Regions from separate parts of the Homo sapiens genome. Here region 1 is linked to region 2. The links are contacts of gene promoters, found by promoter capture Hi-C in human tissues and cell types (Jung and others, 2019). All regions are on one chromosome and are shown on one strand. Each heading gives the region's core, a stretch centred on a gene start or on the middle of the fragment in contact. The rest is flanking DNA. Distances are from core to core; before and after follow the strand shown. Region 1 has its middle 14 kb from the start of HTR3E-AS1. Region 2 holds the start of HTR3D (5-hydroxytryptamine receptor 3D).

Region 1 (3,980 bases), core at 1,355-3,854, 87 kb before region 2:
TGGCATGGTGGTGCATCCCTGTAATCCCAGCTACTCGGAAGGCTGAGGCAGGAGAATTACTTGAACCCGGGAGGCGAGGGTTGCGGTGAGCCAAGATCGCGCCATGGCACTCCAGCCTGGGCAACAAGAGTGAAACTCTGTCTGAAAACAAAAGCAAAAACCAAAACCAAAACAACAAAAAACATCCATCCTCAGGAGGGTAAAGTGTATTGCATTTCCCTAATGACTGATGATGTCAAGCACCTTTTCATGTGCTTTTTTGTTTGTTTGTCTGGACAGAGTCTCATTCTGTTGCCCAGGCTGGAGTGCACTGGTGTGATCTCGGCTCACTGCAATCTCCGCCTCCCAGGTTCAAGCAATTCTTCTGTCTCAGCCTCCTGAGTAACTGGGACTACAGGCTCACGCTACCGCACCTGGCTAATTTTTGTATTTTTAGTAGAGACCAGGTTTCACCATATTGATCAGGCTGATCTCGAACTCTTGACCTCAGGTGATCCACCCATCTTGGCCTCCCATAGCGTGGGCCACCCAACCTGGCCTGCTGTTTTTTTTTTCTTTTCTTTTCTTAAATAGGGATGGGGTTTTTTGGCCAGGCTGGTCTCGAATTCCCGACCTCATGTAATTAGCCCACCTCAGCCTCTCAAAGAGCTGGATTACAGGCATGAGCCACTGTACCCGGCCTTCATGTGCTTACTGGCCATTTGTGTATCTTCTTTGGAGAAATGACTATTCAAATTCTTTGCTCTTTTTCGTTGATTATTTGTTTATTTATTGTTCAGGTGTAAGAGCTCTTTATGTATTCAGGGTACATATCCTGTATCAGATATATGACCTTCAAATATTGTCTCCCAGCCTGTGGGTTCTTTTTTCACTTTCTTGATGGTTTATTTAAAGCATGATAGTTTTAAATTTTGATAAAGTCCAATTTCTCCTTCCTTCCTTCCTTCCTTGCTCTTCTTTCCTTCCTTCCTTCCTTCCTTCCTTCCTTCCTTCCTTCCTTCCTTCCTTCCCTCACTCCCTCCCTCCCTCCTTCCTTCTCTCCCTCCCTCCTTCCTTCCTTCCTTTCTTCTTCTTCTTTTTTTGGGATAGAGTTTCCCTCTTGTTGCCCAGGGTAGATTGCAATGGTGTGATCTCAGCTCACCACAACCTCCGCCTCCCGGATTCAAGTGATTCTCCTGCCTCAGCCTTCCAAGTAGCTGGGATTACAGGCATGCGCCACCACGCCCGGCTAATTTTGTATTTTTAGTAGAGACAGGGTTTCTCCATGTTGGTCAGGCTGGCCTCAAACTCCTGACCTCAGGTGATCCGCCTGCCTAGACCTCCCAAAGTGCTTGGATTATAGGCATGAGCTACCGCGCCCAGGCTTATCTATCTTTCTTTTTTATCGTTTGTGCTTATAATAGTCATATATAAGAAATCATAGCCCACCCCAAGATCGTGAAGATTAACTGCTATGTTTTCTTCTAAGAAAACATTTAGCTCCTATGTTTAGGACTGTGATCCATTTTGAGTTGATTTTTGTGTATGGTGTGAGGGGTAGGGGTCCAAAGACATTCTTTTGCATGTGGATATCCAGTTGTCTAAGCACCATTTGCTGAAAAAAACTATTCTTTTTATCATTGAATTATTTTGTTCCCTTTGTAGAAAATAAATTGACCGTAAATGTTAGGGTTTATTTATGAACTCTCCATTCGAATTTCGTTGACCTATATGTCTTTCCTTATGCCAGTATCACACTATCTTGATTACAATATCTTTGTAGTAAGTTTTTTTTTTTAAGATGGAGTCTTGCTCTGTCTCTCAGGCTGAAGTACAGTGCCACGATCTCGGCTCACTGCAACCTCCACCTCCTGGGTTCAAGCGATTCTCCTTCCTCAGCCTCCCGAGTAGCTGGGATTACAGGCACACGCCACCATGTCCAGCTAATTTTTGTATTTTTAGTAGAGATGGGGTTTTGCTACTTTGGCCGGGCTGGTCTCAAACTCCTGACCTCAGGCGATCCCCTCGCCTCGGTCTCCCAAAGTGCTGGGATTACAGGTATGAACCACCGCGCCTGGCCTGCAGTACGTTTTGAAATGAGGAAGTGTGAGTCTACCAACTGTGTTCTGCTCCAGGATTGTTTTGATTATTCTGGGCCTGTTGCATTTCTGCCTTTTTTTTTTTTTTCTTTTAAACTCATCTGTATTTGTTACAACCTTTTTAAGCAGAATGTGACTTGGGTACTACAGTTCCATTCACAAGCCTCGCTCTGGGTTATTTCTGAACAGCTTTACAATATGCCTAGGTAGGCTTATAATTTTGCTCCTGCAAACAATATTTTCCTTTGGAAAACAAGTCCTGTGGAGAGTTCCTTCCATCAAGTTGCTTCAGTTTAACATATTTCCAGAGGACAATTACATGCAGAATTGGCAACTACAGGATGAAAAGTTTAAAAAGTAGATCCTAGAAGATGCAACAAATACTTTTCCTCTAAACATCAAGGTATTTCTCAGAAAACTTCAGTGACAAAGATTTGGCCTACTAAGGAATCTGGCTTGATAGCTTAAACAGTTTAGATCACAAAGTTAATGTTAGGTTACATACATCTTTTTTTTTTCTTTTCTTTCTTTCTTTCTTTCTTTTTTTTTTTTTTTGAGGTGGAGTCTCTCTCTGTTGCCCAGGCTAGAGTACAGTGGCGTGATCTTGGCTCACTGCAACCTCCACTTCCTGGGTTCAAGCAATTCCCCTGCCTCAGCCTCCCGAGTACCTGGGATTACAGGCACCTGCCATAGCACCCAACTAATTTTTGTATTTTTAGTAGAGACGAGGTTTTGTCATGTTGGCCAGGCTGGTCTTGAACTCCTGACCTCAGGTGATCCACCCGCCTCGTCCTCCCAAAGTGCTGGGATTACAGGCGTGAGCCACCGCACCCAGCCTACATACATCTTACAACACACATTACCCCAATCTGTTAAAATAAGCCAATGTGAAACTAGAAAAGCATTGCTAGCTCTGTTTTAGTGCCTGAAGTATCACAAAATCACTTAGAAGTATCACAAAATCACTTAGAAGTAGAAAGAAACCTTACCTTCCCCCTGAAATAGTTATTGTCATGCCATGCAGACTTTTTTTTTTTTTTTTTTGAAGGCAGAGTCTCCCACTTTCTCCCGGGCTGGAGTGCAATGGCGTGATCTCAGCTCACAGCAACCTCCGCCTCCTGGGTTCACATGATTCTCCTGCCTCAGCCTCCTGAGTAGCTGGGATTACAGGTGCACACCACCACACCCGGCTAATATTTTGTTTTTTTTTAGTAGAGATTGGGTTTCGCCATGTTGGCCAGGCTGGTCTCGAACTCCTGACCTCAGGTGATCCACCTGCCTCAGCCTCCCAAAGTGCTGGGATTACAGGTGTGAGCCACCACGCCCGGCCCCCATACAGACTTTTTAAATGTTAACAAAAATAACTAAAATAATCCTGAAAATATATTATCAGAGAGAATGAAGATAGAGTATTGAACACATGTACAAGTCATTCCTCAGCCAGAGCCGCCTACTTCTTCCATGCGTGATGTGTCATCACCTCCTCTGAGGGGCGGCATTTCTTTAGTTATAGCGGCATTGATATCATTAGCAGTAGGATCATATTCATCAACACCCAGACCAAGTTTGATCATCCTATAGATCTTGTTAGTATGTCTCTGAGGGTCTTCCATACTGAAGCCAGGAGATGGGAGTGCAGTTTAGTAAAGCAAGATGACCAGATCCTTCACTGACTTGTTGTTCTTATCAGCCTCTGCCTTTTGCCTTAAGGTTTCAATCATGAATGGTCAGGGTTTATCTCCAGGTGTTTCTTTGCTGCCACGTAGCCCATTGTTGAGTTGTCTTACCGGGCTTGAGCTTTCATGATTCTTTCCATGTTTGCTGTCCAGCCATATGTGCTTGTGACAATACAGCATGGGGATGTCACCAGTTTGACACAACCACCTTTTTGACTTTTTTCTC
Region 2 (4,041 bases), core at 1,056-3,555:
TACTGTTTTTCCACAGTGGCTACACAATTTTACATCCTCACAAGCAGTGCACAAGGGTTCCAATTTCTCCACATTATCACCAACACTTGTTATTTTCTGGTTTTTTAATTTTGTTTTGTTTTGTTTTTTTGAGACAGAGTCTTGCTCTGTCACCCAGGCTAGAGTGCAGTGGCACAATCTTGGCTGTCTGCAACCTCTGCCTCCTGGGTTCAAGCAATTCTCCTGTCTCCTCCTCCCGACTAGCTGGGATTACAGGTGCCCACCAACACGCCCAGCTAATTTTTGTATTTTTAGTAGAGATGGGGTTTCACCAAGTTGGTCAGGCTGGTCTTGAACTCCTGACCTCACGTGATCTACCCGCCTCAGCCTCCCAAAGTGCTGAGATTACAGGCATGAGCCACCTCGCCCAGCTTCTGTTTGTTTTTTAATACTAGCCATCCTAGTGGGTGTGAGATATCTTACTGTAGCTTTGATCTGCATTTTCTTAACTATTAGTAACATTGAACATACACCTTTTCTTGTGCTTATTGGCTGTTTGTATTTCTTCTTTGCAGAAATGTCTATTCAAGTCCTTTGCCCATTTTTGAATTGGGTTGTTTGATTTTTTTGTTGTGAGTAACTAATTTTACAAAATCCAATCAAAGGGCCAGGCACGGTGGCTCATGCCTGTAATCCCAGAACTTTGGGAGACCAAGGCAGGTGGATCACCTGAGGTCAGGAATTTGAGACCAGCCTGGCCAACATGGTGAAACCCTGTCTCTACTAAAAATACAAAAATTAGCTGGGTGGGGCAGCACGTGCCGGAGGCTGAGGCAGGAGAATCGCTTGAAACTGGGAGGCAGAGGTTGCAGTGAGCTGAGATTGCACCACTGCACTCCAGCCTGGGTGACAAGAGCAAGACTCCATCTCAAAAAAAAAAAAAAAAAATCCAGTCAGAGGGTCCACTGCTCACCACTAGACCACTGCAATGTTGGGTGAGGACTTACAACTTCCAGATGGCAGACAAGGTGAAGGAGATGTTGACATGAGTGGCGACACTGTAGTTGGTGACTGGACCAATAGCCTTTCTGTCAAACACTGCTTGAAAGGCTGCAGGGTCCACCCTGTGCTGGCCAAAGCCTGGGCAATTGATAATCAAAGTGTCGCCATTTCCTGTAGTGAGCAGAGACTGAGAGAGGAGGGCCAGGGCTGGGGGGCCTGGAGAGTGTTTCTGCATGGAGAGAAAACAGGGGGCACTGGGAGAAGCATGTGAGCTCCTCCTTCCTGGTCCAGGAAGAGTAGGCTGAGCTGGTAGGCAAATGGTGGAAACTGATGAGGTGAGCTGAGTCAAGGATCCATCCTCAGTGCCATTGTTTTGTCCCCATGCAAAACCTGTCCAGATGTGTATGCAAACTCAACCCCGACCGCCACTTTACAGTGTCCTGCCATGTCCTTAACAATCTCACTGCAACCTCTCCACCTTCTGCCAGTGTCCTTCTCTTGCTTACCTCCAACCTGGAGCCATGTGGGTGATGTCAGTGACAAATTTTGCACTCACAGTTCTCCGCCTCGCTGTATTAATATGGCATAGATGCTAATAAATTAATGATAAGGGGAGTAATCAGATAGGTAGTGTGAGATATATGGGATCTTAAGGAAACAAATCAATTTCAGTTTTTCAATTTGATGAGTATTTACTGTGTCTTTACTATGTGCTGTGATTGTTCTAACATTTAGTAGTCTTCATCACTAGGATTATCTTAAAGAGTTCCCAGGCTGGGCTCAGGGGCTCACGCCTGTAATCCCAACACTTTGGGAGGCCCACGCGGGCAGATCACCTGAGGACAGGCATTCAAGACCAGCCTGGCCAACATGGTGAAACCCCATCTCTACTAAAAATACAAAAATTAGCCAGGCACGGTGGCAGGTGCCTGTAATCCCAGCTACTTGGGAGGCTGAGGCATGAGATCGTTTGAACCTGGGAGGTGAAGGTTGCAATGGGCTGAGATATTGCCACTGCACTCTAGCCTGGGTAACAGAGCGAGACTCCATCTCAAAAAAAAAAAAAAAAAGAAGAGAAAAGAGTTAACTAAATATTAGGATCCTAGGAAGAGGTACAAAGCCATCAGTGTCACGAGCATCATTTTTACCATAACGAACATCCAATCATTGACTATCTCAGAATAAAAAATATTAGCCTGTTTTCTCTGCTTCCCAGGAGTTACATGTCTGCTCAGCTCTTGCTCTTATCTTAAGGTACTTGCAGCAGCAGGTGGAGGATGAAGCCAAGGAGGAATCCTTTCCCATGGAACCAGCCTCTTTCCATCTTCCTCTCTTTGGCACTTCTCTGGGTACTTGATGATGATGTTAACCTTTAAAAAACCTCAGATCACACCTTGAGCCCTACCTTTGAATAATATATATATCAGCTGGCATTAACCGCCTCTCTAACAAGACCCCTTGGTGACAAAAGAATGTCACAGAGGAATAACTCACCCTGTGCTTTAACTGGGCCTGAATCTAGCCTCCAAAAGTAATATGGCAAATCAGTTTGGAGAAGAGGAAGCAAAAATATGTGGTCCCTGGAGCAGTGCTAATGGCTTCCTCATACTTTAAAGTCACTCTGGCGTACAGTGCCTCACCGAGAAGGCATGGATGACTACCACTGCCTCCAGGTGGCACGTGAACTTGTTAGACCCTGCTGTCATCTTTCTTTCTTTTCTTTTCCTTTCTTCTTTCTTTCTTTCTTTTCTCTTTCTTTTTCTTTCTTTCTCTTTCTTTCTCTTTCTCTTTTTCTTTCTTTTTTCTTTCTTTCCTTCTCTCTCTCTCTCTCTCTCTCTCCCTCCCTCCCTCTCTCTCTCTTTCTCCCTCCCTCCCTCCCTTCCTTTTTTTTTTTTGCGACGGAGTCTCCCTCTGTCTCCCAGGCTGGAGTGCAATGGTGCAGTCTTGGCTCACTGCAACCTCCGCCTCCCGGGTTCAATCGATTCTCCTGCCTCAGCCTCCCAAGTAGCTGTGATTACAGGCGCCTGCCACCATGCCTGGCTAAGTTTTTGTATTTTTAGTAGAGACGAGGTTTTACCATGTTGGTTGGCTGGCCTCAAACTCCTGACCTCAGGTGATCTGCCCACCTTGGCTCCCAAAGTGCTGGAATTACAAGCGTGAGCTACCATGCCCGGCCCCCTACTGCCATCTTTCAAAAAAGAAAGCGTGTTGGGGGGAGGGGGGTCCCTATTAATATAAGCAACTTCATACACTGAGGTTTTAAACATGACTTCAGTATAGTTAAGACTTTAAAGTATGAGGAAGCCATTAGCACTGCTCCAGTGATGACATATTTCTGCTTCCTCTTCTCAAAGCTGATTTGCTATGCCTTTTTAGTGTTTCAAAAGCAATCTGGACCCAGGTCTACCCAATGAAGGGAGTGATTAGTGGAGTAGGGGGTGGTGGCAGAGGTAATACTTTTTTAAAATAAAAGCTGACTTATGATTTTTTTTTTTAAATGGAGTTTCTCTCTTGCTGCCCAGGCTGGAGTGCAATGGCGCGATCTTGGCCCACCACAACCTCTGCCTCCCGGGTTCAAGCGATTATCCTGCCTCAGCCTCCCGAGTAGCTGGAATTACAGGCATGCACCACAAAGCCCAGATAATTTTTTTTTCATTTTTTTATTATACTTTAAGTTCTAGGGTACATGTGCACAACGTGCAGGTTTGTTACATATGTATACATGTGCCATGTTGGTGTGCTGCACCCATTAACTCGTCATTTACATTAGGTATATCTCCTATTGCTATCCCTCCCCGCTCCCCCCACCCCATGACAGGCCCCAGTGTGTAATGTTCCCCACCCTGTGTCCAAGTGTTCTCATTGTTCAATTCCCACCTATGAGTGGGAACATGCAGTGTTTGGTTTTCTGTCCTCGCTCGTTTTCTCAGAATGATGGTTTCCAGCTTCATCCATGTCCCTACAAAGGACATGAACTCATCCTTTTTTATGGCTGCATAGTATTCCATGATATATATGTGCCACATTTTCTTAATCCAGTCTATCATTGATGGACATTTG

What was found. Contacts are between HindIII fragments. The study calls those that stand out against the background at their distance.
Region 1: a contact is called between a fragment that was not itself captured here and the fragment with the promoter of HTR3D in region 2, in 2 of the 25 tissues and cell types used here (IMR-90 fibroblasts and small bowel).

The regions. Positions count from the first base shown.
Region 1 is chr3:184,117,433-184,121,412 of GRCh38, reverse strand. It overlaps the pseudogene HSP90AA5P. Among named protein-coding and RNA genes, the nearest start is that of HTR3E-AS1, 14 kb to the right of the region's middle. The HindIII fragment of the contact is 9,466 bases long and covers 1-3,980 here.
Region 2 is chr3:184,030,006-184,034,046 of GRCh38, reverse strand. It overlaps HTR3D (5-hydroxytryptamine receptor 3D), which reads right to left and starts at 2,305. Exons shown (of 8, transcript NM_001145143.1): 1 at 2,240-2,305. The coding sequence starts at 2,305. The HindIII fragment of the contact is 22,402 bases long and covers 1-4,041 here.